2 separate regions of the Homo sapiens genome follow, and region 2 is linked to region 1. The links are contacts of gene promoters, found by promoter capture Hi-C in human tissues and cell types (Jung and others, 2019). All regions are on one chromosome and are shown on one strand. Each heading gives the region's core, a stretch centred on a gene start or on the middle of the fragment in contact. The rest is flanking DNA. Distances are from core to core; before and after follow the strand shown.

Region 1 (6,428 bases), core at 2,580-5,079:
CAGCACGTCAATGCGGGGATGAGCTACACTTGGCAGATGCCAACTACCCCGTGGGAGCTACAGCTGTCCCCCTGCAGGACCCCAACTGGGACTACGATACCCCGGCAGGAATCTGCGCCAGAAATCATATGCTCCTATGCCTGATAGAGGGAATGAAAAGGAGTCAAGTCAAGCCTGTCAATTATAATAAGTTAGCAACCATCGACCAAGGGCCACATGAGAATCCCACGGCCTTTCTCGAAAGGCTCCAGGAAACTCTTATCAAACATACCAACCTAGACCCGGGATCCCCAGAAGGACAACTAGTCCTAAAGGATCACTTCCTCACACAAGCTGCCCCAGACATTAGGAGAAAACTGCGAATGCTGGCTTTGGGAACTAGAGCCCCCATGTCAGAAATCCTCAAATTCGCTTCCTCAGTGTTTTATAACCGAGACCAGGATGAGAGGGACAGGGCCGAGAGGAAGGAAAAACAGAAAGAAGAGAGGCAGGCTCAATTACTAGCTGCTTTGCAAGTTCACCAGCCCCCTCCAGGTTGCCCTAAGGATACCTTCCCAGGGAACTGCTATCAGTGCGGGAAGCCGGGCCATTGGAAGGCAAACTGCCCCTACGGGCCAAGGGGGGAAAAGCCCTGCACGGCCTGTCCCCTCTGCCGTAAGCTCAGGTACTGGAAAGAGAACTGTCCCGAGAGCCAAAAGGGCCCCTGAGCCAATGATGGCTTTGAGCTGAGGGTGCCCTCTGCCTTGGCCAGCTCCCAGATGTGACATCATCATCAAAGGGATGGAGCCCAGGGCAACTCTGGATGTAGCAGGTAGGACAATACATTTTCTATTTGATTTGAGAGCAGCCTGCTCGGTGCTGACCCCCTTCTCTAGGCAACTTTCCTCTGTCAGGTAATCAGGGTAAATGGCATCTCTTCCTAAGATTTACACCTTCTTTATTGTTAAAAGACCAATTAATCTTTTCCCATGAGTTCCTGATACTGTCTGAATGTCCCATACGTCTTTAGGGCAGGGATATACTCTCCAAACTAGGGGCACGCTTCACATTTACCTGAACTTCCCTGAAAGGCTTTCTTTTTTTTTGGAAGACTCACCCATGACATTGCTGAATTATCTTGATCTGGAATCACAAATAACCCTGAGATATGGGCTTTGATACACTAGGAAGGGCAATAACTGCAGTCCCAGTCAAAATCCAGCTAAGAAAACCTTCCACTTCTTTCATAAGAAACAATACTCGCTATGGCCAGAGGCAACAGAAGGACTTGAGCCTATCATTAACCCATTCCTTAGACATGGCCTGTTAAAGTCTGTAACTCTCCCTGCAACACAGGAAATCTATTCTGCTGGTAGAAAACATTTAAAGGGTTCTCCACTACTGAACCCTGATTAAGTCTGGTTTTCTGATGGCGGCAGTTTCATCCAACATGGAGTGACACATGCAGTTATGCAATAGTGTCTCTATTTGACATTATAGAAGCCAAATCCCTTCCTCCAAGAACATTGGCACAGCTAGCAGAGCTCATTTCCTTAACTAGAGCCATAGAAATAGGGAAAAACCCAAAAGCTACAATTTATACAGATTCAAAATATGCCCTCTCAGGACTCCATGCTCATGTGGCCATCTGGAAGGAACAGGGATTTTTACCAGCAAAAGATACCCCTAAGGAATGTGGACCACAGATCCTGGCCCTGCTCTAAGCTGTACACCTATCACAGGAAATAGCTGTAGTCCATGGCCAGGGACACCAAAGGACCAGGGAGAAAATGCCCAGCAAAACAGGAGGGTGGATCAAACAGCCAGGACCACTACCCTGTAGGGAACTCCTCATGGCCCTTAACCCATCTTTACCCAACACCTTACCCACCCACAAAAACCCAAGAGGAAAAGGAATGGGCTATCAAATATGAATCTACCCGAGAACCTGAGGTGTGGTATACAGTGGGAGGAATTCTCCACTTTCCTAGGCCCTCCAGTAAAAACTTGTGAGAGCACTCCATGAGTCATGTCACTTTGGGAGACATCATCTCCAGCACATGTGCAAAAACCTCTTTTCCAGGAAAGGGCTCTACTAGACTATTTGTCAGGTCTTTAACACCTGTGCATCCTGTGCCTGTAATAGCCCCCAGGGCCCTACGCTGCCCTGCTTTTTTTTTTTTTTTTTTTTTTTTTTGAGTCAAAGTTTCACTCTTAGTACCCAGGCTGGAGTGCAACGGCGTGATCTCAGCTCATCGCAATCTCTCCCTCCCAAGTTCAAGCGATTCTCCTGCCTCAGCCTCCTGAGTAGCTGGGATTACAGGCAGGTGCCACCAAAAAAAGACCAAAAAAAATTTTTTTTTTTTTTTGGTATTTTTAGTAGAGATGGGGTTTCTCCATGCTGGTCAGACTGGTCTTGAACTCCCAACCTCAGGTAATCCGCCTGCCTCGGCCTCCCAAAGTGCTGGGATTACAGGCATGAGCCACCGTGCCCAGCCAAATTTTTTTTTTTGTTCAATGTTGCCCAGGTTGGCCTCAAACGCGTAGCCTTGCCTCCTTGTGACCCAGGACAACCGGCCAGAGCCAATGCAGCTCCCTGTCCTGCTTAGTTGAGCCAGTTCAGCATTGGGAAGCTTACCCAGGGAAAGACTGATGGATGTATTTCACTCAATTGCCAGCCTGTAGAGGCTATAAATGCCTTCTGGTGTTTGTGGACACCTTTATTGGGTGGGTTAAAGCCTTTCCTACAAGAACAGAAAAGGCCCAGGAAGTAGCCAAGGTACTTCTTAAAAAAAAAAAAAAAATCATCCCGGCCGGGCGTGGTGGCTCACTTCTGTAATCTCAGCACTTTGGGAGGCCGAGGCAGGCGGATCACGAGGTCAGAGAATTGAGACCATCCTGGCTAACACAGTGAAATCCTGTCTCTACTAAAAAAGAGAAAAAATTAGGTGGGTGTGGTAGCGGGCGCCTATAGTCCCAGCTACTCAGGAGGCTGAGGCAGAAGAATGGTGTGAACCCGGGAGGTGGAGCTTGTGGTGAGCTGAGATTGTGCCACTGCACTCCAGCCTGGACAACAGAGCGAGACTCCGTCTCAAAAACAAAAAGAAAAAAAAAATCACCCCTCAGTGTGGGTTTAGTTTGTGTTTACAAAGTGACAACGGCCCAGTTTTTATTTCACGCACCCTTTAATTAGTGACAAAAGCCCTAGAAATAAAGTACTCCTAGCACTCCTGGAGAACACATTCCTCTGGCAAGGTAGAAAGCACTAATCAAACTATTAAAAGGACCCTGAACAAAGTGTGCCAGGAAACCTCCTCACCATGGTTAGAACTCCTGTCCGTAGCACTGTTCTGAGCATGACCCCTAATATTACTTATGCCTTCCTACATGCAGACCTAATGTTAGATCCAGAAGTTACCCAATTAATCAAATACATAACATCACTGGCCCAATTTCAACAAGCCATCCAGGAGTTTGAGCAAAAGGTACTGCCTGCCACTGACCCCTCCAGTAATCAACCCTTATACTAGCCAGGGTCACAAGTCCTCATCAAAACCTGGAGAGATGGGTCACCCAGGTCTCAACTAGCCTGGGTCTCTCCTTTATGGAAAGGCCCCTTTATTACTTTCTACCCCGACAGCTATCAAAGTTTCTGGAATCTCTAGTTGGATACATCACTCCTGAGTAAAACTGTGAGAAGGTCCCGAAGAACCAACAACAGAATCAGCATCTGAGTAGTCTCATGAGCCAGCCACTGGAGAGCTTCCAATTCCTCTTCAAGTGAAAAGATAAGTAAAGCCTTCTCTCCTTTCACCTCAAAAAAAGGTCTCTCAGTACGGGGAATCTTGGTTGCGGTGGCATCGGTTCTTCTCCTTATTTTGACCCACACTGGCATGCCACCTGAAGTCCCGATAACAGCCTGATTTCTCACTAAACACTCCATCGAACCATTTCATTATTTGTCTCTCCTATTTTCAGCACTTTCCTTTTGCTTTCACAAAGCTTAAGGGAGAATCAGCTATGACAGAGAAATTCCTTTTCCTTTATCTTTCCCTCCTTCCCATGCCCCTACTCTCACAGGCACAGTGGAATGAAAATTCCCTTGTCAGTTTTTCCAAAATAATTGCTTCGGGAAACCATCTAAGCAACTGTTGGATCTGCCACAACTTCATCACCAGGTCCTCATCTTACCAATATATTTTGGTAAGAAATTTTTCTTTAAACCTAACATTTGGTTCAGGAATCCCTGAAGGCCAACATAAATCTGTTCCGCTCCAGGTTTCGCTTGCTAACTCAGCGCACCAAGTCCCCTGCCTGGATCTCACTCCACCTTTCAATCAAAGCTCTAAAACTTCTTTCTATTTCTACAACTGCTCTTCTCTAAACCAAACCTGTTGTCCATGCCCTGAAGGACACTGTGACAGGAAGAACACCTCTGAGGAGGGATTCCCCAGTCCCACCATCCATCCCATGAGCTTCTCCCCAGCAGGCTGCCACCCTAACTTGACTCACTGGTGTCCAGCTAAACAAATGAACGATTATCGAGACAAGTCACCCCAAAACCGCTGTGCAGCTTGGGAAGGAAAAGAGCTAATCACATGGAGGGTTCTATATTTGCTTCCCAAGGCACACACTGTCCCCACATGGCCAAAATCTACTGTTCCCCTGGGAGGGCCTCTATCCCCTGCATGCAATCAAACTATTCCAGCAGGGTGGAAATCGCAGTTACACAAGTGGTTCGACAGCCACATCCCCCGGTGGGCCTGTACCCCTCCTGGCTATGTATTTTTATGTGGGCCACAAAAAAATAAACTGCCCTTTGATGGAAGTCCTAAGATAACTTATTCAACCCCCCCTGTGGCAAACCTCTACACTTGCATTAATAACATCCAACATACGGGAGAATGTGCTGTGGGACTTTTGGGACCACGGGGGATAGGTGTGACCATTTATAACACCACCCAACCCAGACAGAAAAGAGCTCTGGGTCTAATACTGGCAGGGATGGGTGCGGCCATAGGAATGATCGCCCCATGGGGAGGGTTCACTTATCATGATGTCACCCTCAGAAATCTCTCCAGACAAATAGACAACATAGCTAAGAGTACCAGAGATAGCATCTCTAAACTCAAGGCCTCCATAGATTCTCTAGCAAATGTAGTCATGAACAACAGATTGGCCTTAGATTACCTCTTAGCAGAGCAGGGTGGAGTCTGTGCAGTGATCAGTAAATCCTGTTGCATTTATGTCAATAACAGTGGGGCGATAGAGGAGGATATAAAAAAGATCTATGATGAGGTTACGTGGCTCCATAACTTTGGAAAAGGTGATTCAGCAGGGTCCATTTGGGAGGCTGTGAAGTCTGCCCTCCCCTCCCTCACATGGTTTGTCCCTTTACTGGGACCAGCTGCACTTAATAGCCTGCTTTCTCCTCTTTGGCCCTTGTCTCTATAATTCACTAATTAAATATGTCTCTTCCAGGATATGGCAATTTCACACAGAGCCCCTAAAAATGGAAAGAGATCATCCAATCTTCCTTGGAGGTCCCAGCACCTACAAGTACATATCTCCCTTGGATGCCAGTGGGCAAAGATTCTGCAACTACGGAGGGGCTCCTTCCCTGACAGAGAGCAAGAGAGGGAGACCCTGATGACTTCTTCGTCCCACGTCAGCAGGAAGTAGTTACAGAAGACCCACGACGTCCTTATGCCCAAAGCTTTTCAGGGTCTCCAACTCTTGAGGGGGAATACTGTTAGGGTAGGCAGGTAGCCAGACAAGAGCAGGCAAGGAAGCCCCTGGGAAAGGAATCTTTAGAAATGCAGCCCGCTGATGGCCTCCTTGGAAACGCTGCACGCTGAGTCAGCAAAAGGAGGAGCGTGGCTACACTGGCTACACCTGGCCTTGTGGCTGCATTCCTCTGTTCCAGAAGGGAACTTATCAAGGCCCAGCCAGAGGTTACCAAGGTAGGAGCTATTCCCCACTAAGAAGCATGTATACTTCTCTAATAATTCACCCTAATATACCATTTTGTTCATTAAAATAATAAAAAAAACCACACACCTGTGTGGAGATTTTATTTTTTAACCAGAAATTCCTTGTTAGACTTTAGATCCAAATGACATGGCACATGTGTGCCCAGACCAGTTCCCAACACATGCTTACTAGTAACGCCCCTGCATGACCCCTTCATGAATAATCATGTAAAATTCTCATAAGAAGCATCTCCCCAGCCAGGTGTGGTGGCTCACGCCTGTAATCCCAACACTTTGGGAGGCTGAGGCAGGCAGATCACCTGAGGTCGGGAGCGCGAGACCAGCCTGACCAACATGGAGAAACCCCGTCTCTACTAAAAATACAAAATTAGCTGGGCGTGGTGGCGCATGCCTGTAATCCCAGCTACTTGGGAGGCTGAGGCAGGAGAATCGCTTGAACCCGGGAGGCAGAGGTTG
Region 2 (6,428 bases), core at 2,702-5,201, 83 kb after region 1:
ACTACATCTACAGTTTCAAAAGATATGGTGTCTGGGATAGATTTGGGGACTTTTGCAAGGTAGACTGCTCTGTGTTACGCAATATTGCTAAGTACCTATGTTGACAAGAAAGCAGTTTCAGCATGGACTTCCATGATCCCAAGCAAAGAAATGATTTGATTTTGGATCTTTTCATTAAATTGAGAATAGTAGGGGTGAATCTGATTATAGATGAAAGCCATGAATCCATTTTGTATATGCAGAGTTTAAATGCTTATACATTTTCATTGAAGCAAAATCAACATATTCACAAGAGATTTAAAAAGGATATTTCTGGCCGGGCACGGTGGTTCATGCCTGTAATCCCAGCACTTCACTTTGGGAGGCCGAGGCAGGTGGATCACCTGAGGTCAGGAGTTCAAAACAAGCCTGGCCAACATGGTGAAACGTTGTCTCTACTAAAAATACAAAAATTAGCCAGGCGCGGTGGCAGCGCCTGTTATCCCAGTTACTAGGGAGGCTGAGGCAGGAGAATCACTTGAACCTGGGAGGCAGAGGCTGCAATGAGCCAAGATCGTGCCACTGCACTCCAGCCTGGGCAACAGAGCAGGACTCCATCTAAAAAAACAAAAAAAAAGAAGAAAGGATGGAAGGGGGAGGCTTAACCTTTGCTATCTGCTAGGATTACAGGGTCAAAATCGGCTTCTACATTGTCAACACATAACACCAAGTGAAACTCAAAACTAATGAACTTGCCCTGGTACCTTGGCCTTTGAGACTCGGCACTGAATCCAGCCTGGGCAACATAGTAAGACCCCATCTATACAAAAAAATTTAGAAATTATCCAGGTGTGGTGGTGCATGTCTATAGTCCCAGCTATTCAGGAGGCTGAAGTGAGTGTGAGATTGCAGTGAGCTATGATCGCACCACTCCAGCCTGGGTGACAGAGCCTGTCTCAAAAAACAAAAAACAGAAGAAAAAAGCTTTGAAGGGCACTCAGCCTTCACTGTGGGTGTACTGAATGTTCCTGTCACACATAAGAGACATCATTAACTGCTAAAGGAAAATTTCAGCTAATTGAAAAAATGAGATGCACCAACTTCATTTCAAAGCCATATACATTTAAAATTCCCTTACAATTGTGTAATAGATCAACAATTGAAAGATAAGGAAACAAGGCATTAGTGATGCACATGCTCCAATGAGACCCCGATATCATACAAGGTAACACTCCAAACTATTTTATCTTCCAAAATGCATCCGAAAGCTTCTTGATCTACAACACAAAATACTCCAAAATACCAAAGGTAACCCAGAAATTTATCTCTGAGATTTTCCCTATAATTCCTCTATTTTAAAAAGTATTCTTTATGTTTAAGGGAATGGTTGGCGACCTAAATTACCAGATACCGTTCCTCCACACACCCTGGTCCAGGGTCCTTGAAACGCCCCTGGACCTAAGCCCAGAGTTCTCTTTCTTCCATCCCGGTGCCTGGCAAATAGAAATGGAAACGATGTTCCGATCGTTGTCACTATGAAACTGAACACAGCACAAGTAGAAATTTCACCTTCGTTTCATCCTCTAAACAGACAAATCAGGTCCCGGATTAATTAAACGGTTCTAATTGCCAGTTCCAGGATGAAACCACTGCCCCACAGGGACCATCCGCTGATGCCCCTGCACCCCTCCTGGTACCCTGAGCTAAGATGAGTTGTGATCCTCTTAATGGTAGGATGCCTGTCTCCACCTGCAAACAAAATGAGTTTTTCACTTAAATCGTTTTCAATGTAAGAGTAAAAAAACCTTAGCCTTCAATTAAGTGGCCCAGTACCATTCTGTTCTTTTGCCTTAAATTGTTTGAAATGTTGGATTAACTGAAAATAAGCAGGAAGCGTCCCTGGACTGAAAATAAGCCGGAAGCATCCCTGCTTATTAACTGAAAATAAGCAGGAAGCATCCCCGGCTAATTTCAATTAGCTGAAACTTTATTTTAGCAGTGCAATGCTGTTGATCCAGTCCTAGTGGAGAGAAAGGCTGACATAGCAGAAAATGACCTGGGGCCAAGAGGAGTAGAGAGCCCAGGCCCGCTCCTTTCCCGGCCCTGCCCGCTTCCCACAGCCCAGGCTGCACCATAGCAGCTTCCACCCTCCCATCCCGCCGCCCTCTTCCAGCCCTTTCCCGTTGCCCAGACCCCAGCCCAGGGCGACTTTTACCCTTCTCACCCCACCCCTTCCCCACTGCCCAGGCCCCGCCCCCACGGTAGTCCCACCCTCCCACCCCACCCTCTTCCACCCCTTTCCCATTGCCCAGACCGCACCCCAGGGCGACTTTCACCCTCCTCACCCCGCCCCCTCCCCACTGCCCAGGCCCCGCCCACAGCAGTTCCACCCTCCCACACGACCCTCTTGCACCCCTTTCCCATTGCCCAGACCCCACCTCACGGTGGCTTCCACCCTCCCCACCTGGCCTCTCCCCACTATCCAAGACCCGCCTCTCGCTGGCGACAGCTCCCTCCCAGAATCCGCTTCCAGTTTTCTCACCGGCAGGAGAGCATTCAGGCCTTTCAGGGCACTCCAGCCCTGTCCAACCACACTCGGAATCCACCATCCCACCAGACGTTAAAATCCCCAGGTGCGCTCATGGGATTGGTAGCGAGTCCCAGCGTTTCCGCGGGAAACTCTGAGACCCGGTGGCTCTGCAGCTTGTCTATGATTTGAACCCTCCCCTTGATTTGGAGACTGGATTGCTCTTTTTAATACTCCCAGTTGGTGGCTGGTGTGCTTCCCAGCTGTCCGCAGGTTTGTTCTCATGAGAGATGACTCCAGAGTGTCTAGTCTTTGCTTTGCATAACGGATGAGGAATACAAAATGTCTTAATCTTATGAATATATAAATTGTCTGTTTATGCACAATGTTCAGTCGTTTATTCACTCATCTCCCGTGGAATCCTAAGCACAATTATAAAAGAGTCACGTTACATGAGATCAGCGTCTAACACAAAGCTTCTGTCTCAATAACAGTAAATAATAATAGCAACATTAAATGAAATATTAGTATTGCTAAAATGGGAGTGTAGTAAAAATTAAATAAGTAAATAATTAAAAGGAAATGATATATGGTCAGGTGCGGTGACTTATGCTTGTAATCCCAGCACTTTGGGAGGCCGAGGTGGGCAGATCATATGAAGTCAGGAGTTCAAGACCAGCTGACCAACATGGTAAAACCCTGTCTCTACTAAAAATACAAAAAAATGACCCAGGAGTGGTGGCACATGCCTGTAGTCCCAGCTACTCCAGAGGGTGAGGCAGGAGAATTGCTTGAACTCAGGAGACAGAGGTTGCAGTGAGCTGAGATCGCACCACTGCACTCCAGCCTGGGAGACAGAACGAGACTCCGTCTCAAAATAAATAAATAACTGAATGAATGAATGAAATATTAGGCCATTTTTATGGTCTTCACTTTGGGAGACTGATGTATGCAGGGGTGGACTGCATGTTTGTCCTTGGGGTGGTCTTTTTCGTGAGAAGGGAGCTGAGCAGGACTAACTGAGGGGCAGAGCCAAGGGCCCTTCATGGAGACCACTCTGCTTACCAACCTGTGGAAGGGCAAGCGCAAGTCCACCCAGAAACACATCTGGCTGACTATGGGATCCCTGTCTGAGGCTCAGCAGACCCACGTGGCCAATAAAAGACCCTAAATTCTGCAAAAAGAAGAGTTTGTCTCTGTGCCCAGGCCCCTCCATGGAAAAAAGGTCCTGGGGTCTAAGATTTCTCACTTGGCAATGATGTTGGCTTGAATATTATTCACAGACCCAGATCCTTGGGTCTTGCGTGGGGCAAACTGACTGCAGAACTGCAGGAAGTGAGAGTCTGAACAGAGCAGCAGAAAGGCAGGCAGGAGACCTGAGGGAGGGGAGAAAGGAGAGAGACAAACAGACCAACCCGTCCTCTCCCTCAATCACCCGCCTGGGGAAGCATTAGTTTCCCATCATAGAGAGGACAACGGGGAAAGGGAGAAGCGTGTGCATAGGATGAGATGTGTGTTGGGTGGACAGAAAGACTCCTTTCCCTAAATGTGACCCCATTAGCTCACCCCATTCTATTGCACAAATTCCTGAGCGGAGGGGCACCCTGTGGGGATGAACACAGCTCTTCCTGCCTCCAGTTCCTGCGTCTCCCTGCCATGACCAGGGCTGTAACCCTCCAACTCCCTTCCCAGGGCCCCGTGGCCCCTCTGCACTGGAGAAAGGTCCATGTTCCACAGCGGGTTTCAAGGACCTTGCCCCTCAGCTCCCCAGCTGCCTTGTGACTCTGTGACTCTGTTATCTTGGAATAAACAGGGAGAGGCCACCGGCCTGGCTGCAAGAATGTGGCAGCTTTATCTTCCCAAGGACAGTCCCAGTGGAAGCCTTTGGGCCGCAGGTCAGTGTGCTGTGTTTCACTCTGATTCTTGGAGAAATCTTTCCCTTACTCTGGGACCCTGATAATCACTCCCTCTTGAGTTGCACCCACAGACGCCCCCACAACAAACCCTCCCTAATGAAAGCCATCTGCGCCTGATTCTTAGGATCCCCGTTGCCCTCTGGACTCAGACACGCTTACAAACTCCCACACTCCCCATATACTTCATAAAGATCCCACAATCCCCAGATACTTCATAAAGATCCAGAAGCCCTGTTATGAAATCTCACAAGCCCCAGTAACTCATGGAATAATATACACAAACACCCCAGGAACTCACTGACCCAGGGCAACGTATTTCCACTCATAGTGACTCCACCCCACAGGGGAATACCACTGAAACCTACCAATAAAACAGAGATGTCTCTAATGATGCAATTAGACCCCAACATCAGGAAAGGAAACACTCCAAATGATCATTTCATCTTCCAAAACACAACTGAAAGCTTATTGATCTGCAACTGAAAATACCCCGAATGCCAAAGGCAACCCAGAAAATAATCTCTGAGATTCTTCCTATCTTTCCTCTATGGGTTTCAGGATGGTTTTTGCACTTCCCAAAGCCTCCACAGAAATCACCCCGTGGAGCGGATGCTGTGGAGCAGCTCTGGGATCCACACCCTCAGGCCAAGGCGCCCATCCTCCTGCTGCTGAAGCTCCCTCTGGGCTCAGCTTAGGTCTTGGTTCTAAGTACACTTCGGGATGTTTTTCTCTGCCTGATTCCACTGCCTTCAGTCCTCTTCACTGTGATGATGAGTTTCCGAATTAAATTCCTGCATGCAAATCTCTGTGTCAGCATCTGTTTCCCAGGTAACCTGAGCTGAGACATCAGGGCATTACAAAATGATCCTGCAGCCCCACAACCACCCCAAAACCCACTTCCAGGTGCTACAGCCAGACCTGAGACTTCTTTCCAAGTGTGCCACACATCCCGTGAGCCCACAGTCACCTGTGGGCCAGGTGCATGCAGCATTCATCCAGCTCCTCTAGAGGCTCAGCATTGCTTCCACGCCTCACTCCACACCTCTAAGGACTTCTTCACCTGTCCCCATTTTTCTACTTCTCTTCCAGCCTGAGAAGCACACTGGATTGAAAGGCCTCTGGACACAAGCGATGCGGCAGGAATGGACACAAACTGCTATCTGCAGGACAGTGGGCCTCAAGTCTAGATTCTAGAAGTTGGCCATGCTGGAAGGAATTGCCCCCAATTTGGGGACACCATGGAATCCAGTTTAAAGGCAGGTGAAGATTGGCCGGATTGAGCTGGCGGAGGATGTCCAAGAAAAAGAGAGGCCCCAGATCTCATGAGGGAGGCTGCCATTGTCCCCTTGTCTCTCCACTCACAGTCCCCTGCAAAATTCCCCCGCTGTTTAGGGAGTGCCTCCTTCATGGCCCACTTAGCTTCTGAACTTCTCGCCACCCTTCCTGAAGGGAATCCAGGACCCCTGACTGCGAGCGCATCACCTGCTGGAAGGCAAAGCCCCTGCCCAGGATGGCCACCGGGCCCCGGTGATGTGTAGAGCGCGGAAGACCCGGGAGCTGGAGTAAGGCGGTGGGGACGCCTCGGCACTGGCTGAGGACACAGGGTCTGCGGGGCTTTTCAGGCCTCAGTGAGGCCTTCTGCTCTTACATAGACTGGAATAAATAGCCACAGGAAGTTTAGACCAATTACGGATGAAATTTCCAGAATATGAGACCATCCTCACTACCCGCCCTATCCTTTTGGTCTTCCCTGAGGACTCCTCAGCCCGACCCCAGCCCCAGCATCTGAACCACAACCCCAGAGCAGGTGCTGCAGTCGTCCCGTGGCCAAGATGGAGACACAAAACACTCAAAATAATCCATGCAGAAGAGTGTCCGATGTGGTGATGGATGCGGAGACAGTGAAACCTGAGTAACGTGGTAGAGACTGACAGGCAGAGAGAATTTCAGATGGGGGTGCAAGAGGGTGGAAGACAGCTCTGAGGCTAGACCCGAAGGAGAAGAAA

What was found. The method cuts DNA at HindIII sites, captures the fragments that hold promoters and counts their contacts. A contact is called where the count stands out against the background at its distance.
Region 2: a fragment that was not itself captured here is called in contact with the fragment with the promoter of ERVV-1 in region 1 in 5 of the 25 tissues and cell types used here (bladder, dorsolateral prefrontal cortex, heart right ventricle and 2 more).

The regions. Positions count from the first base shown.
Region 1 is chr19:53,010,092-53,016,519 of GRCh38, forward strand. ERVV-1 (endogenous retrovirus group V member 1, envelope) reads left to right here and starts at 3,830. Exons shown (of 1, transcript NM_152473.3): 1 at 3,830-6,032. The coding sequence starts at 4,000. The coding sequence ends at 5,433. The region is part of intron 1 of LOC124904758 (a long non-coding RNA gene); the gene reads right to left. The HindIII fragment of the contact is 3,820 bases long and covers 1,019-4,838 here.
Region 2 is chr19:53,092,839-53,099,266 of GRCh38, forward strand. All of the region lies in intron 1 of ZNF160 (zinc finger protein 160), which reads right to left. Among named protein-coding and RNA genes, the nearest start is that of ZNF160, 7.4 kb to the right of the region's middle. The HindIII fragment of the contact is 5,693 bases long and covers 1,106-6,428 here.